Regions from separate parts of the Homo sapiens genome. Here region 1 is linked to region 2. The links are contacts of gene promoters, found by promoter capture Hi-C in blood cells and fetal thymus (Javierre and others, 2016). All regions are on one chromosome and are shown on one strand. Each heading gives the region's core, a stretch centred on a gene start or on the middle of the fragment in contact. The rest is flanking DNA. Distances are from core to core; before and after follow the strand shown.

Region 1 (3,858 bases), core at 23-2,522, 520 kb before region 2:
ATTATTTTGACTGCAAAAGCTTGGTTACTTTTTTTATGCACACACTTTCGACAAATTGAAAAACTACCTTCTCCCAGGGGTTTGTCCTTCAAATCTAGGTCATAGTGTTGATAGAATGGAGAGTCCTGTCAAGAAATCAACATCATTTAACTTCAGAAAATGTCAGTAATACACAAAGGATCAATAAAATTGTAGAGTAAAATAAAATTATTAATATTAATAAACAGGAATAGAATACATTTATAATCTAAAATTCATCTTTATAGGTAACTTCTATTTTCATCTAAATAATTATTTAAGATACATAATTCTCTATAATTGTAAAAAGAAGTTCATTCAACTTGACGTTAATTCTCTAGGGAAAATATTGCTATATCCCACTTTTAAAATTGCACTTTAGTTGAATTACTAGACTTAAGAACATTAATTAGAGTTGGTATTTAAACACTCACAAAACCTACAAATATGTCATATAAGTTACCACATCTATATACCTTCATCATTGCACTCCTGGCAACATTTGTCACTCCAGGACGTTCAACTCCCATGTGAAACTGAAGAGGGTCTATGACAGCTGCATTACGCTTGAATAGGATGGAAGGAGCAACAAAGGAATAGCCCTAAAAACAAGACAAAGAAAGATAAAGAAAAACAACTTGCAGTTTTCCAGTTTAACACAGATTAGATTGTAATGACTTTTTTTCCTTAGAAAAACACTCAAATATTTGTTGAGATGAGTCTAATTTTATTTTATTTGCAATCTAAAATGCAAGGTTATTTCAAATCATTTGAAAAATGCTGTTCAGAAGGATATAATGCCATCTTCTGGTAGAACTAAACCAATTCAAAAATAAAGGTAGAAAAAGACTTCTTCCCTATTCCACCCCCAAAATCAGACTCATAGATGAAATTCTCCTGGTTTGCTGATGAAATTTGTTTACAAACATAACTAACTTCTCAAAAAAGGATACAGTCAAGGTATTAAACAAAGTGGTCTTTTTTTTTTGAGATTGAGTCTGGCTCTGTTGCCCAGGCTGGAGTGCAGTGGTGCGATCTTGGCTCACTGCAACTTCTGCCTCCTGCGTTCAAGCCATTCTCCTGCCTCAGCCTCCCAAGTAGCTGGGATTATAGGCACATGCCACCATGCCTGACGGGGTTTCACCATGTCTCGAACTGGTCTCAAACCCCTGACCTCAAGTGATCAACCCACCTCGGCCTCCAAAAGTGCTGGGATTAAAGGCCTGAGCCACCAGACCCAGCCACAAAGTGGTCTTTAAATGCTATTGTTTTTCAAACTGGAAAAATGGCAAGTCTCACTAAAGTTAGTTTCTAATTTAGCAATTATTTGATTCTTATTAATATCTTCAGAATAATTAAATTTAAAATTGAGTTTTGGAAAGGAACAAAGTCTAATGGCAGAATGATGCTCTGAGCTAAGTGGTACAAAGACGGATGATTAATCCGTTCAAGCTAGAACATTCACTAATCAACAAACATTTAAAAAAATGTTCAATAAGTGCCCAGTCACATACTAGACAGTGATAAGCAAAGAAGAAAAGACACCGTCTGGATGGCCAGATTAAGCCATACTAAAGGTATACTTATAGAAGTCAAAGAAGCAAAGCTCTGATGCCATTTAATAGTTAGAATATTTTATCTTGTGTGACAAATGCCCTTTTCTAAATATAAAATCTAAATCTTTTTTTAACAGCAGTTAAGATTAATTACTGAAGGTAAAGAATAAGGTAACATTGTGAACTAAAGAATGTTTTTATATGGGGGTTGAGGGGCACGGTGGCTCATGCCTAGAATCCCAGCACTTTGGGAGGCCAAGGCAGGAGGATCGCTTGAGGCCAGAGTTCAAGACCAGCTTAGGCAACAAAGTAAGACCCTGTTTCTACAATTTTTTTTTAATTAGGTGGGTGTGGTGGCATGCACCTGTGGTCCCAGCTATTCAGGAGGCTGAGGCAAGAGGATCCCCTGAGCCAAGCAGTTAAAAAGGCTGCAGTGAGCTATGATCATGCCACTGCACTCCAGCCTGGGTGACAGAGTGAGACCTTGTTTCTTAAAAAAAAAAAATTTTTTTGGCTGGACGTGGTGGCTCATGCCTGTAATGCCAGCACTTTGGGAGGCCAAGGCAGGAGGATCACTTGAGGCCAGGAGTTCAAGACCAGCTTAGGCAACATAGCAAGATCCTATCTCTGCAAAAAATAGAAAAATTAGCTGGGTGTGCTGGTTTGCACCTGTGGTCTCAGCTATCCCAGAGGCTAAGGTGAGAGGATCACTTGAGCCCAGGAGTCTGAGGCTGCAGTGAGCTAGGACAGCACTGCTACACTCCAGTCTGGGCATCAGAGTGAGACCCTGTCTATATAAATAAAAATTTTTAAATATGAATAGAGGTAAAATAAAAGATTATTGTATTTTCTATAAAAGAATCTGAACAAAAATAAAATTTCAGGTATAAAATTAAAACTTCCCTTATATCAAAAATAAATGCATAAACAATATCTGCTATTGAGCAAACTATAAGCTTCGGTTAACAATGTGCAATATTTCTGCATTTAATAATTTAGAGGATATTAGAGAATCCCATTTTTATGATGCCAACAAAACTACTTCAATATGGGAAATTTAATCTTTTCTTTCAAAGGACATATGGCCAATGTGCATGTGCACAGGATGGGAAATTACCTGAAACAGCTTCTCAGAACTCTGGGGCAGGGCTGCGGGAGAATAAGTGGGATCCATTTCTGTGAACTCTTCTGCAAAGTTACTCACATCTAATTCATCTCGAATGACTGGCTTAAATGGTGCAGGCACTTTTTTGGCGGCTAAATCATCCCAATTTATTTTCTAAAACAAAGAAAGTTGGTACAAAGTAGAAATCAATAGTCAAAATGTACTTTCTAAGAATAACAAAGATAAATTAGGATTTTGACTGGTAGGGAGAGAGGATAAAAATAAGAGAACATATTTCAAATCAATAATAAAAAACATATTTTCTCCAAACAAGATCACAGCAGTTTATAGCTCCAACCAATGCTGTGCCTCAAAGATGAGACTATCGCTGTTGAATCTCAGAGTGTCCTCTGGGGGGCACCAAGACACCCTAGTTTACCTTTAAAGACAACAGAAGAATACTTTTGTCCTGAGCCTCCTCAGAAAGGTGTTAAGCCAAAAAGAAAACAAAAAACCCAAAACAAAATAAAAAACTGAAATAAAGGGTTTCCAAAGGCTCTACAGATGTGGATATTAGCTCTAAAAGAATGTTCCTATTTTCTAGAGGCAGTGTTACTTAGCTCTCTGCCTGCACTTGCTTTTCCTCCTGGGCATCCAGACAGACTGGAAAATAAATCCACTGTAAATCAGGCATGTGCTTATGTCTAGAAGTTCAAATGATACCATCATATGGATGTGATCACTCTTTTCTTATTCAACTGTGTTCAAGCATTTTAAACACTGCCTCTTATGTCCCCCATAGAATAATGCAAGCCCCTTTTCCCTCTAGGTCACTTACTGAGTTATATTACTGAAATCCAACCCTTTGCTCTGTTTCTTTGTGCTCCTTCTATCATTTAAAACAATCTCAGATAACACTTACTGAATTAAATCCTACAGGTCTCCTACTACCACATTTTTTCAAATCTAAGATGCCATTACTGATAGTAAGATACACAATTATTTTATGTATCATTAAGAAGAAAAAAGTATTAATCATAAGAATATAAGATGATGGCCACTGTAACATGCATACTGATTTCAGTGACAGTAAAATATGAAAATGTGCACTTCTTGGTTGATAAAATTTAGTAAGTTTAATCAACTACCATAAATTTTTTTTTTTTTTTGAGACGGAGT
Region 2 (4,316 bases), core at 47-2,546:
TCATCAAACCAACTGCCAGACCCACTGTCCTGGAGTTCTTCAAACACCTACGAATGTCCAACAGGCACGTTAATACTGAGATACCAGCGTCTCCACCTTCAGAGAACTACCCCCCACCCCACACACACCCCGCCATGCAACCTTCCACTCCATTTCTACTCTCAAACTTTCTAACGCACCATTCTTTCCTTCCTCCGAGAAGAAGGTAACTTACATTTGCAGCATAATTTGGTTCAAAAAGATGCCGTCCACTAAATCCATGTACATAGTCAGGTTGTCCTGGCTGCCGCTTCCAAACGGGCCAAAAGTTTTCACCTGCGGGGAGGGGGACGAGGAGAGAAAGACAGGAAGTCACCCCGTGCGCACAAACGGTCCAAAGCTCTCCCAGGCAGAGACTGGACGGGTCAGTGTGAGCAGAAGGGGGTCACCCACGCCCACACCACCCTTCAGCAGGCACCAAGCCCGGCCTTCTCCTAGGGCCTGTCTCCCCTCCCCGCGCGGGGCAACAGACACGAGACAGGAGGAAAAACTTCCTCGCCACTTTTCTCCCGCGTTCCAGAGCGGAAGAAATAAAAATAAAAAGGACTTTTCAATAAATGTCTCACGTCTCAAATCCATTGTAAATCAGTGCGCCCACCCCAGTCTGTTCGCTTTCCCATTCGGCGCCCCCCATTCCCCACCCGTCACCGCCATCCACCGGCTGGTCTCAGGGATTCAGAAAAACTACATGAGATATTTGGTTGGGAAGAATGGGGTCCTTTTCGGGAGTGGCTAAACCCCAGGGACAGGAGTGACCACTGGGACCCGGTCCGCCCCGAGGCAGCCAGCCTAGAGCCCCAGCGGGAACAGGTGTACCCGCCCGGCTCCTGGCCCGGCCGAAAGCGCGGCGGGGTCCCGCGCCGGACGCACAACGGGGGCGCCGGCTCCAGAGTTACAAAGCTCCGGACTCCAGGACGCGGCCCCAACCCCGGCCGGGAGCCACTTGCTGCGTCCCTCGCGCCCCGGAGCCACCCGGGGCCCCGGCCGTGTCGGGTCTGCGGCGTCCCGTCGCCGGGCTAGAGAGAAGCCGGTGCACCAACAAAGGGGCGGGGAGCCAGGCGCACTCACCCAGGTCACCAGCGGGCTCTGCAGGAAGAGCTCCAGGAGCTCCGAGACTGTCACGTCCATGCTGAGGCTGCGCCCGCCGGCTCCGCGCCCCCCGCCCCGCGTCCCCGTTCCCCCGCGCCGCGGCACAAAACGGCTCCGCAGCGAGCAGCGGGCGCGGGGCTGCGGCGGCTCGCGCCCGGGAGACAAAGGCGGGGCGCGCGAGCCCACGTTCCGCGGCTTCGGCGGCCCCGCGCCCCGCCCGGGTCTGGGGGAAGGGGAGGGCCAGCCGCTCGGGGAGGAACAATACGGGCGGCCCCGCCCCTCGGCGGCCCTGGGCGACCGGCGCGCCGCCTCGCGGTGCCAGCCCGGGAGCCCGGGAGCCCGGGCGCGGGACCAGGCTACGCGGGGCGCTGGGAGGGGACTGGTGGCCCGAGGCGGGTGGGTCGCGGGGCCCGGCTCCCCGCCCGTGGGACCGCGCGCCCTCGCCGAGCGCAGCCTCCCCGCGTGTGGGGCCCCAGCACGTGGCGCATCCCTGCGCGCGTGCGCGTGCAGCCGGGGCCCGAGCGCCACGTGCGAGCTGGGGTGCGCGGGCACTGGTGCGTGCCGGGAGCGGGGACGCCCTGCCCTCCGAGGTTGCTCTGCCCTCCGAGGTCGCCCGCAGCTGCCGCCCGCTCTGGGCTTGGGGACCTCGGCCCTGCGCCTTTCCGCACTCCTGGCAGGTGCAGCCCCAGGTACAGTCAAGAGGCCCCGCAAACCCCCGCTCCTCACGCTTGTGCGCGGCGCGATAAACGCGCCCCGACCCTGGGGCTGGGCTGGAGGGCAAAGAAGAAACTTTATGTTGAGTTTAGGCCTTAGGGGCGCGGCCCCTCGCGCCCTACCGTGCCCCACCGTGCCATGTTCCGGGCTGCCTGCCTTCTAAAAGTTCCTGCAGGAAGCAGGTGATGTGGCCTCCCCGACCCGGGCCCGCCCCCACCACTTTGCCGGAGGCGAGCTAAATTCCAGCCGGGGTTCCTAGCAGCAGCTTAGTGGCAGGCGACAGGAAAAAGGGCAAAGGCCCCAACTGGCTGGAAGGCAAGCCCGGGGGCAGGACCTCCTTGCGGGACGGCACGAGGCAGGAGCCGGCTCCAGGCTGGTCTCGGCCTGGTAATAATTTCACACCACCAGCCGGTCATTGTTCAAAGCACTGTAGACCATTTTACTAATTTAACCCTAACGATCGCCGCATTTCGCAGCTGGGCCAACTGGTACAGGGTTGACCCGAAGGGCCCTGCGTGGCGCTTGGCAAGTATACAGCAGGCACTAAATGGCTGCCGACAGGCTCGGTGGTAATTTTGAAAGTTGGCTCTGTGCAGCGTTGGGGCTGCGGCATCTGCTGGTGGCGAGTGGTATTACAGCCCAGCGCTGGCGGACCCCGTTGGGCTGGGGAGGGTTGTGAGATTATGGCCTGAGAGCCAAGGGGGTCGGTTAGGGGTCCCTAGAGACTGTGGAAGGCGGGGTAGCATAAAACACAATGGGGGACTGCGGAGGAACTAAAATTTCGAGACTACATGGTTTTGTTGTGCACCAGAAGTTCATTAGAGAAGTTCCTTAATTGCTTCTCCGCCCGCCGCGATGGCACTCGACCCCGCGGATTAATTTAACAACTCTGATGGTTGCTCTGTGAAATTTAAAGAACAGTGGTTTAAGCAAAGACCACAAGAAAGAAGAATTGAGATCAAAGAGGAGTGTGTGCCATCGCTGTGGAGGAGTTTCAGTTGTGAATCATGAAATGTCCTGTAAACCATTTCAAGGAGTTTGATTTTTATACCAAAAACAATGGGAAGACACTACAGGTTTTTGGAGCAGCAGCTCAGACGTGTCGAAAAAGATGTTTTGATCCCTAAAATAATGAGAGAAAAGGCCAGAGAGAGGTCTTCTGACAAGTTCAAGATTTTACCAAATGTTGCAAGAACTCTGGAATCCTTATGGTAGTAAAATGCTGGAAAGAAAATTCTGCATTGAAAGAATGTCTTAACAGCTCACTATAATGACCCAGCCTTTTATGAATAATGCAAAGTGGAAAACCTGAAGGAAAAGGAAGAATTCAGAAAAACTGGAATTTCTACAAAGAAAAGTCTACAGAAGCTGCCCACAAGTGTGTAGACAAATATTCAGATGACATTCAGGATCTCTAATACTCATGGAAGTCGTTTATAGAATAAACCTTAAATAATGGACTCAAGAATGTGTGTTTGCTAATTATGTGTGTATCCTAATTATGGAAATATTAATTTTATCTGAAATAAAAATCTTTTTTTCTTTTCTCTTTTTTTTTTTTTTTTTTTTTTTTGAGACAACAGAGTCTCACTCTGTTGCCCAGGCTGGAGTGCAGTGGCGTGCTCTCTGCTCACTGCAACTCCGCCTCCCGGGTTCGCGCCATTCTCCTGCCTCAGCCTCCAGAGTAGTTGGGACTGCAGGCGCCCACCACCACGCCCGGCTAATTTTTTGTATTTTTTACTAGAGACGGGGTTTCACCGTGTTAGCCAGGATGGTCTCTATCTCCTGACCTCGTGATCCGCCTGCCTCGGCCTCCCAAAGTGCTGGGATTACAGGCGTGAGCCACCGCGCCCGGCTAAAAATCTTTTATTTAAAAAAGTTCCTTAATTGCTCATAATGTAAGTTAGTTCAAAAATAGGTATGATGTGTACACACACCGCTCTTCGCTCGGAAGCCTCTCTTCTGAAAAGTAAGGGATGCAGATGCGGCCAAAGTTGTTTTTCCAATTTTTTTGGAAAGACAAGGATGAGGAATCTTTAAAGTTATTTATTGAGGCCGGGTGCAGTGCCTCACACCTGTAATCCCAGCACTTTGGGAGGCCTAAGTAGGTGGATCACTTCAGCCCAAGAGTTCAAGACCAGCCTGGCCAAAAAAAATAGAAAAATTAGCTGGGTGTGGTGGTGCACACCTGTGATCCCAGCTACTCTGGAGGCTGAGAATCACTCGAACCCGGGAGGGGAAGGTTGCAGTGAGCTGCTATTGCACCATTGCACTCCAGCCTGGGTGACAGAGCAAGACTCTGTCTCAAAAAAAAAAATTTATTGAGTAAGCTTATTCTTTCACACTAAGAAATACAGTGGACAAATGCCTTCTGACAGTTGTGAGACTTTTCCCATCCTGGTGAGGGAATTTTCCCCTGGGGACATTGACAAGGCCCTGGGCCACAGCCATGTCAGGAATGTTTGCTTTGGGGT

The links. Contacts are between HindIII fragments. The CHiCAGO score rates a contact against its expected background, and 5 or more counts as called.
Region 1: a contact is called between a fragment that was not itself captured here and the fragment with the promoter of CCDC88C in region 2, in 1 of 17 cell types (total CD4 T cells). The highest score is 5.1, in total CD4 T cells.

What each region holds. Positions count from the first base shown.
Region 1 is chr14:90,900,117-90,903,974 of GRCh38, forward strand. RPS6KA5 (ribosomal protein S6 kinase A5) reads right to left here. Exons shown (of 17, transcript NM_004755.4): 9 at 2,692-2,853; 10 at 495-620; 11 at 1-125. Among named protein-coding and RNA genes, the nearest start is that of LINC02321, 74 kb to the left of the region's middle. The HindIII fragment of the contact is 2,511 bases long and covers 18-2,528 here.
Region 2 is chr14:91,416,524-91,420,839 of GRCh38, forward strand. CCDC88C (coiled-coil domain containing 88C) reads right to left here and starts at 1,297. Exons shown (of 30, transcript NM_001080414.4): 1 at 1,108-1,297; 2 at 215-315. The coding sequence starts at 1,167. It overlaps CCDC88C-DT (CCDC88C divergent transcript), which reads left to right and starts at 1,723. Exons shown (of 3, transcript NR_184261.1): 1 at 1,723-1,817. It also overlaps the pseudogene LOC112268126. RefSeq lists enhancers at 1-172, 1,778-2,422, 2,663-2,712 and a silencer at 793-1,712. The HindIII fragment of the contact is 7,798 bases long and covers 1-4,170 here.